5 separate regions of the Homo sapiens genome follow, and regions 1, 2, 3 and 4 are each linked to region 5. Evidence: promoter capture Hi-C in human tissues and cell types (Jung and others, 2019). All regions are on one chromosome and are shown on one strand. The core of a region is centred on a gene start or on the middle of the fragment in contact, and the rest is flanking DNA. Distances in the headings are between cores, read along the strand shown. Region 1 overlaps GOLM1 (golgi membrane protein 1). Region 2 overlaps GOLM1 (golgi membrane protein 1). Region 3 has its middle 24 kb from the start of GOLM1. Region 4 overlaps GOLM1 (golgi membrane protein 1). Region 5 holds the start of C9orf153 (chromosome 9 open reading frame 153).

The links. Contacts are between HindIII fragments. The study calls those that stand out against the background at their distance.
Region 1: a contact is called between a fragment that was not itself captured here and the fragment with the promoter of C9orf153 in region 5, in 2 of the 25 tissues and cell types used here (mesendoderm cells and thymus).
Region 2: a contact is called between a fragment that was not itself captured here and the fragment with the promoter of C9orf153 in region 5, in 2 of the 25 tissues and cell types used here (H1 embryonic stem cells and small bowel).
Region 3: a contact is called between a fragment that was not itself captured here and the fragment with the promoter of C9orf153 in region 5, in 4 of the 25 tissues and cell types used here (H1 embryonic stem cells, mesenchymal stem cells, mesendoderm cells and 1 more).
Region 4: a contact is called between a fragment that was not itself captured here and the fragment with the promoter of C9orf153 in region 5, in 1 of the 25 tissues and cell types used here (mesendoderm cells).

The regions. Positions count from the first base shown.
Region 1 is chr9:86,064,626-86,067,325 of GRCh38, reverse strand. All of the region lies in intron 3 of GOLM1 (golgi membrane protein 1), which reads left to right. Among named protein-coding and RNA genes, the nearest start is that of GOLM1, 34 kb to the left of the region's middle. RefSeq lists enhancers at 992-1,992, 1,993-2,493. The HindIII fragment of the contact is 3,549 bases long and covers 1-2,700 here.
Region 2 is chr9:86,045,398-86,048,097 of GRCh38, reverse strand. GOLM1 (golgi membrane protein 1) reads left to right here. Exons shown (of 10, transcript NM_016548.4): 5 at 1,526-1,628. Among named protein-coding and RNA genes, the nearest start is that of GOLM1, 53 kb to the left of the region's middle. The HindIII fragment of the contact is 3,554 bases long and covers 1-2,700 here.
Region 3 is chr9:86,122,134-86,124,833 of GRCh38, reverse strand. No RefSeq gene overlaps it. Among named protein-coding and RNA genes, the nearest start is that of GOLM1, 24 kb to the right of the region's middle. The HindIII fragment of the contact is 3,721 bases long and covers 1-2,700 here.
Region 4 is chr9:86,083,219-86,085,918 of GRCh38, reverse strand. All of the region lies in intron 1 of GOLM1 (golgi membrane protein 1), which reads left to right. Among named protein-coding and RNA genes, the nearest start is that of GOLM1, 15 kb to the left of the region's middle. The HindIII fragment of the contact is 3,123 bases long and covers 1-2,700 here.
Region 5 is chr9:86,258,407-86,261,106 of GRCh38, reverse strand. C9orf153 (chromosome 9 open reading frame 153) reads left to right here and starts at 1,450. Exons shown (of 4, transcript NM_001276366.4): 1 at 1,450-1,557. It also overlaps the pseudogene RN7SKP264. The HindIII fragment of the contact is 6,872 bases long and covers 1-2,700 here.

The DNA of each region.
Region 1 (2,700 bases), core at 81-2,580, 190 kb after region 5:
ATTCACTTGTAAAGGTGTGCATTCTCTCCTAAGGAGGGCACAGAGTGGTTTAATTCATTCTTTTATGTTGTTAACACAGGCTGATTAATAATTTGGGTCTGGGCCAGGCATGGTGGCTGATACCTGTAATCCCAGCACTTTGGGAGGCCAAGGCCGGTGGATCACTTGAGGTCAGGAGTTCAGTCAGCATGGCGAAATGCCGTCTCTACTAAAAATACAAAAATTAGCTGGGTGTGGTGGTGCATGCCTGTAATCCCAGCTACTTGGGAGGCTAAGGCAGGAGAATGACTTGAACCTGGGAGGCAGAGGTTGCAGTGAGCTGAGACCATGCCAAGCACTCTAGCCTGGGTGACAGCGAGACTCCATCTAAATAATAATAATAATAGTAATAATAATAATTTGGGTCTGAAGACTTCCAAAGATCCTGGGTCCCCTCTTGGCTAACTGCTGTTCAGTGGCCAGTAGTGGCCACAAAGGCTTGGGGGTGGCATCACCTGCCCTCTGAAATGCTTGGGGAAGAGTCTGGGAGACCCTGAATTACTTACTAGCACTTCGTGAAGGGAAAGGCACATCTTCCTGCTATTGTGTTCATTTTTGCTTGCCAAAAGTTCAGTCACAAATAGCTTCATTTTCAGCATTTGCACTTGTAACATTCTCGCTCGGCTGGTTTCTCGCAGCTGCACATCCACTTTGACATTTATACTTTTTACTTATTTGTTAAAATATGTGCATTAATATTGCAGAGGTGCAAAGGTAATGTTTTAGCAACAGTTCCTTTGTCATGAAAATAGAGTTCTTGTATCTTTCCTGAAGGGGAGCAACTGAGTTAAAACAAAAAGATTGCTGAGTGGAAGAACAGAGGTGTTGGTGACTTGCTTATCGTTTTGTGTCCAGAAGAAGAAAAGCTTAAAGAGGCAGTGGGAAAGTGCAGGGGGCGCTCAGCCTCACTGTTGTCATGCTTGCCTGTGTGACCTGTACCCATGTCCAGGTGGTTTCAGGGAGCTGCCCGGTTTCTCCTCTTGCACAGTAACTTGGGGTACGAGGAGGCTCTGAGGTGTTTACAGTGCTTTTCTCTTGTAAAGAGCTGGTTCATGGAGTGCGTTCTTGAGTGTCTTCTGAGCCTGGGATGGGGTCACTTCCCTCAAATACAACAGCATTTGTTTATGAGTGACTTTTGCTGAAAGATTTTGCCTCTTCAAAATAAAATAATTAACAAGTCTGGTCATTGGTCCTACTTGAGAGTTTCAGAGTGCTTTTGTAACATGAACATATTTATTTATTTTCTGGAGACAGAGTCTCACTGTGTCACCCAGGCTGGAGTACAGTGGCGTAATCTTGGCTCACTGCAACCTCCGCCTCCCGGGTTCATATGATTCTCCTGCCTCAGCCTCCCGAGTAGCTGGGATTACAGGCAGGTGCCACCACGCCTGGCTTATTTTTGTATTTTTAGTAGAGATGGGGTTTCACCATGTTGGCCAGGCTGGTCTTGAACTTCTGACCTCGTGATCTACCCTCCTCAGCCTCCCAAAGTGCTGGGGTTACAGGTGTGTGCCACCGCACCCAGCCCGACATGAACATATTTAATTTCTAACTTCATTTCTTTAGGAGACAGTCATTCTTGTCGCTTGAGACAGAGGGGAAGAGAGTGAGAGCCAGAGAGGTCATGGAAGGCTCCCGGCACCTGAGAGTGGCCGGCGTGGGGCTGCCGGGGGCTGCCAGGTCTGCTCGTCACACTGGCCCCACCAGACTGCATTCTCCTGTGGCCAGATGCAATTCTCAGAGGGTTCTGGTGTCTTCTCTCTGGGCCAGCTTTGCTTGTGCACCTGCGAATGTAATGATTGTCTTCTGGGGGAACCAAAGCGATCTTGTGCAGATAAAAGTGGTGTCTTTGATTTTTATCACCTTTAATCGCTGTGATTGATGAATCCAGAGTTCTAGAGCAGCTTTTCTGTTTTTATTCTCACCGATTTTCCGGGTCCAGTTCTGTCAGTCCGTTCAGTATTTGTTCTGTTCTGCCCTGGCCTGTGCCCAGTGGTGGGGAGGCTGTGTTCATTGCACATTTACCATTGAGTGCTGGACAAAGATGAGGAAGTGAGTGTAGTGGGGTCAGTGTAGACAGAGAAACCACCCAGATATTTTAAGCAGGAAGGATTTGATACAGGGAAATAGATACTGTAAGCTGTGGGAAGGGCCTGCATTGAGGTGGGGTGGCTCTCAGGCACTATCTCAGGACCTGCCCCTGTGCCCAGCGTAGAGCGTGAGACCAGCGGGGTTCTGCTGCAGTGCAGGCCCAGAGTCAGGGGCACCCCACTTTCTCTGTTCTGCACCTCCCACACCCTCACTCTGTTCCACATTCTAGCCTCCAGTAAGTGCATCTGATTGGAGGCAGAATCCCACTGGAAATGATTCTGGAAGGTGCATTTTAGCTTCCGAGCCTTTGTGGTTCAGGAAAGCACAGCAAAAGGCGTGTGGAACCGACGTGGAGGAGCCGATCTGCTGCATCCCCCACCAGGCAGGCGGCTCAAGGGCCATGGGAGTCAGCAGCGCTGTCCCCCACAGTGTCTAACCTGGAAGGGTGCCTAGGGAACTGCGAGTGGCTGGGCCCGAGCAGAGTGTGATGTTGGGGTGCAGGAGTTTGGACTTGAGTTTGAAGGAGTTTGGACTTGAGTTCAAGACCGGGGAAGCCGTCATAGGGTTTAA
Region 2 (2,700 bases), core at 73-2,572, 210 kb after region 5:
AAATTGAACAATGAGAACACATGGACACAGGGCAAGGAACATCTGGGGCGTGTCGTGGGGTGGGGGGAGGGGGGAGGGATGGCTTTAAGAGAAATTACCTATTGTAAATGACGAGTTAATGGGTGCAGCACACCAACATGGCACATGTATACATATGTAACAAACCTGCACGTTGTGCACATGTACCCTAGAATTTAAAGTATAATTAAAAAATAATAATAATTGGGTACATGCATACAGATGGAATCAGACCATCTGTTATCATTTTTTGCCTGCCTTTTCTCTCTCAGCATAGTTATTTGCGATTCGTCCATGTCACTGTGATACAAGTCATTCATTTCTTTGACTGCTGAGTTGTATTCCGTTATCTCTTGCCTAGTTGGATTGTGGGGTGTGTTCAGTTACGCATATTAAAGTATCGTTTATATACAAGAACATTTACCCCTCGTGGGTACAGTTGGATAAGTCCTGACAAATAGTCTCGCAGATCACCACTGCAGTCAACATGGCAGCTGCCCACCGCTCCAGGACCCCCCACCCATGCCCTGCGAAGTCACCAGTCCCCTCTCTGTCTAGGCCCAGCACCCACCCAGCTGTTCTCTTCGCCACAGCTTTGTCTCTTGAGGGTGTCACGTGTGTGCTTTTGGGATGAGTCCGTGTTGTGTGTATCGTAATTCACGGAACGCTTCCATTTTATTTCACTTTATTTTCCACCTGAGACTATTGTAGGTCTAGTGTTGTGAGGGCCCACCTTGGGGATGCCTGCATCTGTCCTGGCCTGTCTGTCCTGGCTGTGTCCGGGCCTGGCTGCTGCTGCCGCCCACTGTGGTATCCGCCTGGTGGCTGCCTTCCCCTCTGCCCCAGCTTGGCCCTTTGTCCGCTAGGGCTCTTTTATGAGCCAAGTCATCAGGGCAGCAGGGATGGGGCTGATTAATTTCCTTAAAGAAAGCCGCTCTTTCCCTGATGAGAGTGTTGGTTGATTAAATGGGCACAGGGCCTTGGAGAGTGGCTTGGCTGTGAATAAATGACGAGGGAGGATGCTGGCAGGTAGCCTGGTGGCCGAGGGCAGGGTGTCCAGCAGGAGTGGCTGCTTATCTGACCAAACATCAAAAATCAGTGTTTTACAGATGGAAGGATGAGTCGGCCAGGGATGAGGGCAGGGTGGTGTGTGTGACCTTTGGGGACAGCTCGGGGCTTATGATGTCTACAAAAGAGACAGGCACACAGAAGCTTCCAATATACATTAAAGGCTAGCGGCCAAAAAGGAGATTTAAGAGAGACATTTGGGAAAGGATCAAGACGCAGCTTCTTTCGGCTTGCTGCTCTTGCAGAGCACTCTCCACAGCTGGGGTTTAGTGACTCTGGGGAGGGACTGTGTTTTCAGCTTTTTCTCTCTCCCCTCCTTTGTCCCAATCTGTCCTTGCCCTTTATGGTCTGATGTGTGAGTCTGCCTCTGTCATATTTTGGCTGAATGGCATGACAGCTGTGCCGGTGACCTGTGCAATTCCTTGTCCCCTTGGTGTAGACCAGTTAAAGACCCTGCAGAGGAATTACGGCAGGCTGCAGCAGGATGTCCTCCAGTTTCAGAAGAACCAGACCAACCTGGAGAGGAAGTTCTCCTACGACCTGTGAGTACACCTCAGAGCGCGTGCCACAGTGCAGGGTGCACGGCACCTGGGAGGCGGGGATTAAGCTGAGATGTAACCTCCGATAGAGCATGCACCTTCTGCTCCGTGCGGGACTCTGAGAAAGGCACGGGCCCCTCTAGGATTCATGTCCTACACAAATGCACAAGGAGGCCAGCTCTCAGCAGGAAATGAATTTCTCAGCATGCCTTAAAATGTAACTTAAAACTCTGTAAGGCACAGGTGTACTGGTTAAGTCAACAACATAAAGCTTTAAAAATGTGTTTCATAGGTGCTCATGCGTGAGCTAAATCAAATTCGTTGACTAAAAGACATTTTGGCAAAATATTGATATAGTAATAGTTTATTGCCTGGCGATCACATTGTGGACATTGTTTTCTTCAGACTTTTCAGTGATTTTCCCAATTTTTACAGTGAGAATGGAATACTTTGATAATCAAAACCAAGCAATATTAAACTATTAAAAAGTGAGCTAAGCCCCGCAGGAAGATAGTAAAAGCCAGTTTGCAAGCCAGAGGATAAAGTTGTGTTTATTTTTTCCTCATAAAAACAATATAGCTAACGTGTGGGAAGTTTGGGATTCAGAGAGAACCAACCACCCATGGCCCAGCCCTCATGACTGTCCTTTTCCCTTTGACTTACCTCTCTCCAGTCCATGCCCAAGTTCACATGAATGTTTACTTAATTGCAGTCATCATCAAAAAAATTTAATCATTTTTTTACTTGCGTTATGTACGTGTGTGTGTGTGTGTGTGTATATACTTTTTTTTTTTTTTTCTTGAGCGGAGTCTCGCTGTCCCCCATGCTGGAGTGCAGTGGCACAATCTCAGCTCACTGCAACCTCCATCTCCCAAGTTCAAGCAGTTCTCATGCCTCAGCCTCCTGAGTAGCTGGGACTACAGGTGCCCACCACCACACCCAGCTAATGTTTGTATTTTTTTAGTCGAGATGGAGTTTCACCATGTCAGCCAGGCTGTTCTTGAACGCCTGACCTCAGGTGATCCACCTGCCTTGGCCTCCCAAAGTGCTGGGATTACAGGTGTGAGCCACTGTG
Region 3 (2,700 bases), core at 1-2,500, 140 kb after region 5:
ATTTTTTCTTTTTCTTTTTTTTTTTTGAGACAGGATCTCACTTTGCCACCCAGACTGGAGTGCAGTGGAGCAATCACAGCTCACTGCAGCCTCGATCCCCCGGGCTCAAGCAATCCTCCCATCTCATCCTCCCAAGCAGCTGGTACTACAGGTGTGCACCACCACACCTGATTAATTTTTAACTTTTATTTTTATTTTTGTAGGGACGAGGGCTTACTATGTTGCTCAGGCTGATCCTGAACTCCTGGGCTCAAGCAATCCTCTTGCCTCAGCCTCCCAAAGTGCTAGAGTTATAGGTGTGAGCCACTGCTCCCAGCCTGATGTGGCTTTTGTTATTATTGTCATTTTTGTTAGTTAATATGGTTAGTCAATTAATAATAATTGACATTATTAATATTATGAGCCAGATGCTTTTGATCCCTTCCCAGAGAAGAGCAACTTATCCAAATTCATACATCTCTATCTCAAAGCGCTTAATGCAAGTATACGTTGACAGATCTCTACTCCAAGAGGTAAATGGCAGGACTTTCCTTGGACACACGTCTGTGTTGGGATTTACCAGAGGAGAATGTCTGGTGCAAGCTACTATCAGTCATTAAAACCTTAGTCTGAAAGAGCAGCCACAGACAGACAGAAAGGCTGCTGTGTGGATCACTTGCTGTGTGAGCAGGAGGCTGCCACTTATGCCACCTAAACCAGTTTTCCCTTATGAGAAATGAGGACTTCTGCCCCTCCTACCTGGTAAGGGCTGTCATGACCACCACAGGGCATGAGGGAGTAAGAGGCTAGTCCTGATGCACAGGAGCCCTCTGGCAGTCCCAAGGGAGGAAAAGCCACCTGCTTCTCTGCTTGCCTGGAGTCTACACTGTCTGGTGGTCTTTCAAAAACTGCCATTAATTAACTGTAGCTGACTTGGTTGGCTATTCTTTTTAATTATTTGCTTGGGGGTGACTCTTTTATTCTGTGCAAAATTAGTTTAATACTCAGAATAACCAGCCCCTATAGAGTTTTTTTTTAAAAAAAAAAAGACTTTAAAATGCAAATTTCCCTCCCCGTTCTTCTCCCTTGATCCCAAGCATCCACAGCACTTTGAAGGAGTTTGATAGTGATATAACAAGTGATGTAAAGGCTCCTGGAGAACTTAACATAAATGCAAGTAAATCTGTAAAATTTAAAACCAACCCAAGTGAAAAAAATCAGAACTGTTGCTTTTCTGGGATAGGTGGGGATTGACTGGAAAGGTTGCATGAGGCAATTTTCTAGGGTGATGGTAATATTCTGTGTCTTGGTAGGCTTTTATGGTTACAAGGCAAATGCATTTGTCAAAATCTAATGAATGACTGTGCATTTCATCGTATGCAAGTTTTACATTCAAGGTAAGAGATGGATCTAACAAAACGTTTCTTTCCTACCTCATGAAAACACCACCTTTTGGCAGACGTGAAAAGAATACTGCCACCGGATAGAAATGGGTTCATTTGCCCATGCAACAGAAAGCCAAACACCAAAGCACCAGATTTTTGTAGGGAGAAAGGATTATTGCCAGGCAGCCAAGCAAGGAGACGAGAGTCAGGCTCAAATCTGTCTCCCCATACAAGACTTACAGTCTTAGATTTAAGAGAAAGATCTTGGAGGTGGAATTTTGGAGCTGGACAATGATTGGCTGAAAGGAAGCAGAGTTTGGAAAGTCCCTGGGTATGTGCAGTTGCCTCTTCAAGCTTCTTCATGGGTCGCATGTGCAAATTTGGAGGGAACTGGTTGTGACATAAAAAGGTCATTCATTGGCCGGGCATGGTGGCTCGATGCCTGTAATCCCAGCACTCTGGGAGGTTGAGGTGAGAGGATCACTTGAGGTCAGGAGTTTGAGGCCAGCCTGGCCAACATAGTGAAACCCCATCTCTAGTAAAAAAAAGTACAAAAATTAGCCAGGCATGGTGGCACATGCCTGTAATCCCAGCTACGTGGCAGGCTGAGGCAAAAGAATCGCTCGAACTTGGGAGGCAGAGGTTGCAGTGAGCTGAGATCACGCCACTGCACTCCAGCCTGGGTGACACAGTGAGACCCTGCCTCAAAAAAAAAAAAAAAAGGTCACTCATCTGGCCTCCAAGTCTATGCTGTGCAGACTCCAGTCAGCCATATTGGTTCCAGACTGCTTCAGCCAGCTTTGTAAGCAGATGGGATTATAGCAAACTGTTTCTTTATCTGTCCGCCTGCAAGACAAGCTCAAGCTTTCTGTAGGTTACCAGTTTCTTTAACCCTGTGGGGCACTGTGACAATGCTAAGCTACTGAATGGTGACTCCGCCTTGCATTAAAAAGCATAGCCTGGCCTGAATCCCTGTTTTCTAGCCACCAGGAGGCTTCAACACAAAAGGCTCCTGCTGGTGTCCATAAATTTCTAGCCCCATCAGAATATGAACAATGTCCAGTGTAGCATAACAGTCACTAGTCTGGGTTCTGGAGCCTGACACCTGGTTTTCAACACCACCTCTACCCTTCTTATGATTTGGAGCAAGCCACTTAACTTCCAAGCCTTTACTCATTCATAGAACAAGAATAATAATTGTATCTGTATCATAGAGTTGTTATGACAGGGATTAAATAAGAATTTAGCACAATGTATAATGCGTGGTAATCACTAGAAATCATTGGCTATTGTCATAGGTTATTGTATTAGTATTTATTAGACTTCAAAGTCTCAA
Region 4 (2,700 bases), core at 151-2,650, 180 kb after region 5:
TTCACGATAGCAAAGACTTGGAACCAACCCAAATGCCCATCAGTGATAGACTAGATAAAGAAAATATGGCACGTATACACCATGGAATACTATGCAGCCATAAATGAGTTCATGTCCTTTGCCAGGGACACGGATGAAGCTGGAAACCATCATTCTCAGCAAACTAACACAGGAACAGAAAACCAAACACCACATGTTCTCATTCATAAGTGGGAGCTGAACAATGAGAAAACATGGACACAGGGAGGGAAACATCACACACCAGGGCCTGTGGTGGGGTGGGGAACTAGGGGAGGGGTAAGCATTAGGAGAAGTAACTAAATGTAGGTGAGGGGTTGATGGGTGCAGCAAACCATCATGGCACAGGTATACCTATGTAACAAACCTGCACGTTTTGCACATGTATCCCAGAGCTTAAAGTATAATTTAAAAAAAAAGTAGAACCTTCAAAAAAAAAAAAAAAAACAAAAACTTTGGGCAAAATTTCTGTAAAGTAAAAGAATAGATGAAAAATTGAAAAAAAATTATTCAAATGAAGGACCAAAGATTGGTTTACCTTTAATAGACAAAGAGCTTTAGCAAATCAATAAGATGAACACCCCAGTTTAAAACTGGGCAAAAAATATGAAAAGGCATTTCACCAAAATGAACATGCAGATGGCCAATAAATGAAAAGACACTCATTTGTACTCACAATTAATGTGCTTGAAAATATCACTAATGAGATTGTCAGGCATTAAAAAGTTTGTTTTCTATGTTACCATGTCGGAAAACAGGCATTCTCCTGCTGCAGAAGATTGTGATTAAAACCTCTATATGAAAAGAAGGAAAATTTTTTTTGTAGGCCTAACTGTCTTTTTGTTTGTTTCTCTGGGACAGAGTCTCACTCTGTTGCCCCCAGGCTGGAGTGCAGTGGCGCGATCTCGACTCACTGCAACCTCTGCCTCCCGGGTTCAAGTGATTCTTCTGCCTCAGCCTCCCGAGTAGCTAGGACTACAGGTGAGCACCACCCCCGGCTACTTCTTGTATTTTTAGTAGAGATGGGGTTTCACCATATTGGTGAGGATGGTCTTGAACTCCTGACCTCGTGATCCGCTTGCCTCAGCCTCCTAAAGTGCTGGAATTACAGGCATGAGCCTCCGTGCCCAGCGAAAGGAAGGAATTTTTTAAAATATTAATATTTAACTAGAAGGTTCAAGGGGCTCATGCATTTGACAGGTTGGACCTGTTTTGGATATGGTTAAGATCTATCAAATAATTTTTTATATAGTTTAGACTTAAGGAAGGGTTGGAAAATAGTACATATAGTTCCTATATACCCTTTACCCTGTTTCCCCTTAACCATAGAATTTATCAAAATTAAGAGATTAACCTTGGTAATATCTTTTTAACCGTGCTGGCCAAGTGTTTTATAGAATGTCTGACGCGTTGACTTCCTCTGAATTTTCTCCTGATAAGATTGAGGTTATGTATCCCTGGCAGGAGGCTGTAGAGGTGCCGTGCCCTCCTAGTGCACCATATCAGGGGGTATGTGATGTCGATGTGCCTCATTATCAGGGATACCAAGCTTGAACATGTGGCTAAGGTGGCATCTGCCAGAATTCTTCATGTAATAGAACTGTTTTTCCCTTTGTAATTTGCCAACTATTTTGGAAGAGAGAAGCTCTATCAATATTAAAAACATACATTTTTGACCCAGAAATAGATCCACAGAGATGTGATTTATTTCATCTCCTGCAAAATGGGGATGATAATGCCCCCAAAGCTGATACGAGCCCCTGTATTGAGCAGTGCCTCACAACAGTAAGCTTGCTGTTGGTTCATCTCAAGCTCCTTGAGGCCAGCTAGGTTTGGAACTCAGGACTTTTTTCAGAATTCAGATAACATTGGGCATTTATTATATATTATGTGACAGCCCCAGGAGGATCTAGGACAGCACCGCATGCTCAAACACTCATCTTTCTGCAGTGAAATGTATGAGCATTCACATGAAAGGAGGAAGATAAAGACTATCAGTAGCTTCAGATAAGTTCTGATCAGACCTTGATCTCAGTTCAGGTTTTGTTGCTGGAAAAGTTTTTAAAACTTTCTCTGAGTTTTTAGAGACCGTTTTGGATTTCAAAGTTGTGAATAAGGGACTGTACACATAGGTAAGAGTTCGTAAACACAGAGATGGATGTACAGTTCCACATCTGCAGATTAAACTAGCTGTTCAAAATGTACTTAAGCCTGGCTGGGCATGGTGGCTCATGCCCATAATCCCAGCACTTTGGGAGGCCGAGGCAGGCAGATCACTTGAGGCCGAGAATTCGAGACCAGCCTGGCCAACATAGTGAAACACTGTCTCTACTAAAAGTACAAAAAAAACTAGCTGGGTGTGGTGGTGGCCACCTCTAATCCCAGCTACTCAGGAGGCTGAGATGGGAGAATCCTTTGAACCTGGGAGTCGGAGGTTGCAGTGAGCCAAGTTCGTGCCACTGCACTCTAGCCTGGGTGACAGAGCAAGACTCCCATCTCAGAAAAACAAACAAAAATTAGTTAGGCCTACTGTGGTTGCATCTGTACTGAACATGTATAGACTTTTTTGTGATTAGTTCCTAAACATATGGCTTAACAGCTAATTACATAGCATTTATATTGTACTAAGTATTATAAGTAATCTAGACATGGTTTAAAGCCTAGAGGAGGATGTGCCTGGGT
Region 5 (2,700 bases), core at 201-2,700:
AGTGGATCACTTGAGGTCAGGAGTTCGAGACCAGCCTGGCCAACATGGTGAAACCCCATCTCTACTAAAAATACACAAAAATTAGCCAGACATAGTGGTGGGCGCCTCTAGTCCCAGCTACTCAGGAGGCTGAGGCAGGAGAATCACTTGAACCTGGGAGGTGGGGAGGTTGCAGTGACATGAGATGGCACCACTGCATTCCAGCCTGGGTGACAGAGCAAAACTGTCTCAAAAAAAAAAAAAAAGCAGATTCTGTAACAAAGGTCCAGGGCAGAGCCTGAGATTCTGCATTAGTAGCAAAGGCCCAAGTGAAGCCAGTGCTGTTGCTCTGCAGAACACCTTTGAATGGCAGGCTTTTGAAATATTTTCTCATTGGAAGAATCTTCTGTATTTATTAAATTCTGCTTAAAATTATTAACTTTCTTGTATATCCATGTTCATAACAGCATTATTCACAATAGCCAAAAGGTAGGAACAACCCAGGTGTCCATTGACAGGGGACAGGGGGTGAGAAATTTATTTCATGGACACAGATTCAGGTGGAAAAGATGAAAAAGCTCTGGAGATGGAAGGCAGTGCAGGTGGCACAACAATGTGAATGTACTGAATGCCACAGAACTGTGTACCTAAAACGGCTTAACACGGTAAGCTTCATGTTATGGATATGTTGCCACGGTGTTCACAAGTTATTAACTCAATCAGACTATTTAAATGCCCAGTAGATTGCATTCTGGGGAAATGGCTGTTTCAGGAAAATTTTCAGTGATTGCCACAGGGACCTCCCATGGGTGGGGAATGGAGTCTGGAGCACGGCTGCATGGCTCATGGAGAGAATTTGCACAGCCAGGTAGCCCCTGGTCCACTTCTACCCATATCTGGCCAGGTGCAAAGAGCATAGCTGTACCTTCTATTATCTCTCTCAATTTCTTATTTGCACTTTGCCCATGTCTATAGAAGGAAAAACTTGACTGATTAAAAATTACATTCACGGCACCTGTAGTCCCAGCTACTCAAGAGGCTGAGGCAGGAGAATGGCGTGAACCCGGGAGGCGGAGCTTGCAGTGAGCTGAGATCGTGCCACTGCACTCCAGCCTGGGCGACAGAGTGAGACTCCATCTCAAAAAAAAAAAAAAATTATACTCACGCCAGCCTGGGCAACATGGCGAAACCCCATCTCTAGAGAAAAATACATAAATTAGCCAGGCGTGGTGGCGTGCGCCCGGGGTCCCAGCCACAAGCTGAGGCAGAAAAAAAAGTAGCTACTCAGCTACTCAATGTTCACTCTTTAAAAATGCTTTTCCATCATCCTCCACCGTCTCCCACCCCCCACCAAGCAGCAAGATAATTCCCCATCGCTTAGCATCATATAGCTGCTTATGTGACCTTGAGAATGTCCACATGTCACAATGGACAGTCACTTAACACTAAGCAATGACACATGCTAGGAGTGGGGCTGGGCCTTGGGGCTGCTGGATGAATGAGACCCAGCCTCTGCCCTGGGAGTGCAGAGACTCAAGACAGATATGACCACGTGAAGAGACAACTGTAAAACAAGTGGTAAGTGCATCTACAGCCATAGCCACGGGGCACTGTGAGACCACAGAGCAGTGAAAACTAAGCCAGTCTAGGCTTGGCAAGGAGAGATGGAGTGAGGTGGGCAGTGGCTAAGGTGGGAAGACCAGAGCTGGGAGGTGAGATGGGATTTGGGTTTATCTTTACCAATAAGGATGAGGAGCCTGTTTCATCTTCCTCCAGGCAGGTCACAGAAGCTGGAACCAGTTGATCGGGCCGAGCCTGCAGACTCCCTCATCCTTTCCGGCCTTCAACACTGATAGCTCTGCTCTCTCTCCCCAACCTCAGTGCCTTCATCCTCCCCTGTGTTCCCATGGATGCTTGGTCCTGACTTTGCACCTCTCCCTCACACCCAGTGTCCTTTGTTTTTCCTCTGCCACTTGGGAGGCTGATGGGAGGATCACCTGAGCCTGGGAGGTTGAGGCTGCAGTGACCTGTGTTCACGCCACTGCACTCCAGCTGGGGTGACAGAATGAGAGCCTATCTCAAAGAAAAAAAAAAAACACTGCTCTGTATGATACTATCAAAGTGGATATATGTAATTGCACATTGTGAAATCTCATAGAATGCACAACACCAAGAATGGACCGTAATGTAAACTGTGAAGTATGGGCTTTAGTTAGTAACCATGCATTGATACCGGCTCATCAAGTATAACAAACGTACCACACAAACATAAGTAGTAAAAAAAAAAGGGGAAAGCTGTGTGTATGGTGCAGAGAAGGGGGGTTGTGGGAACATTGTACTTTCTAACCAATTCTAAAATTGCTCTAAAATTTAAGTATATTAATATTTTTAAAAAAAGTTTCGTTAAATTAGCAATATAATAGTTGCTTACCCAAGAAAATTCAGGTTTTCAAATATTGCGTTTTAAAAGCAATTATTTCCGGATGTGAGGGTGATCTGGCTGCAACATCTGTCACCCCACTGATGGCCAGGGTTAATTTGTCTGATCTGGCTGGCTAGGTGGATGTCTCCTTCCTCCCTCATCCGTCCACATGCGTCCTTCCAGACGCTGCGGACAACCTTCCCCAACAGAGGAGGGCCGTTCTTTGGGCAAGGGTATATGAGTAGCTGCACTCCCCTGCTAGAACCTCCAAACAAGCTCTCTAAAAGTAATTACTTCAA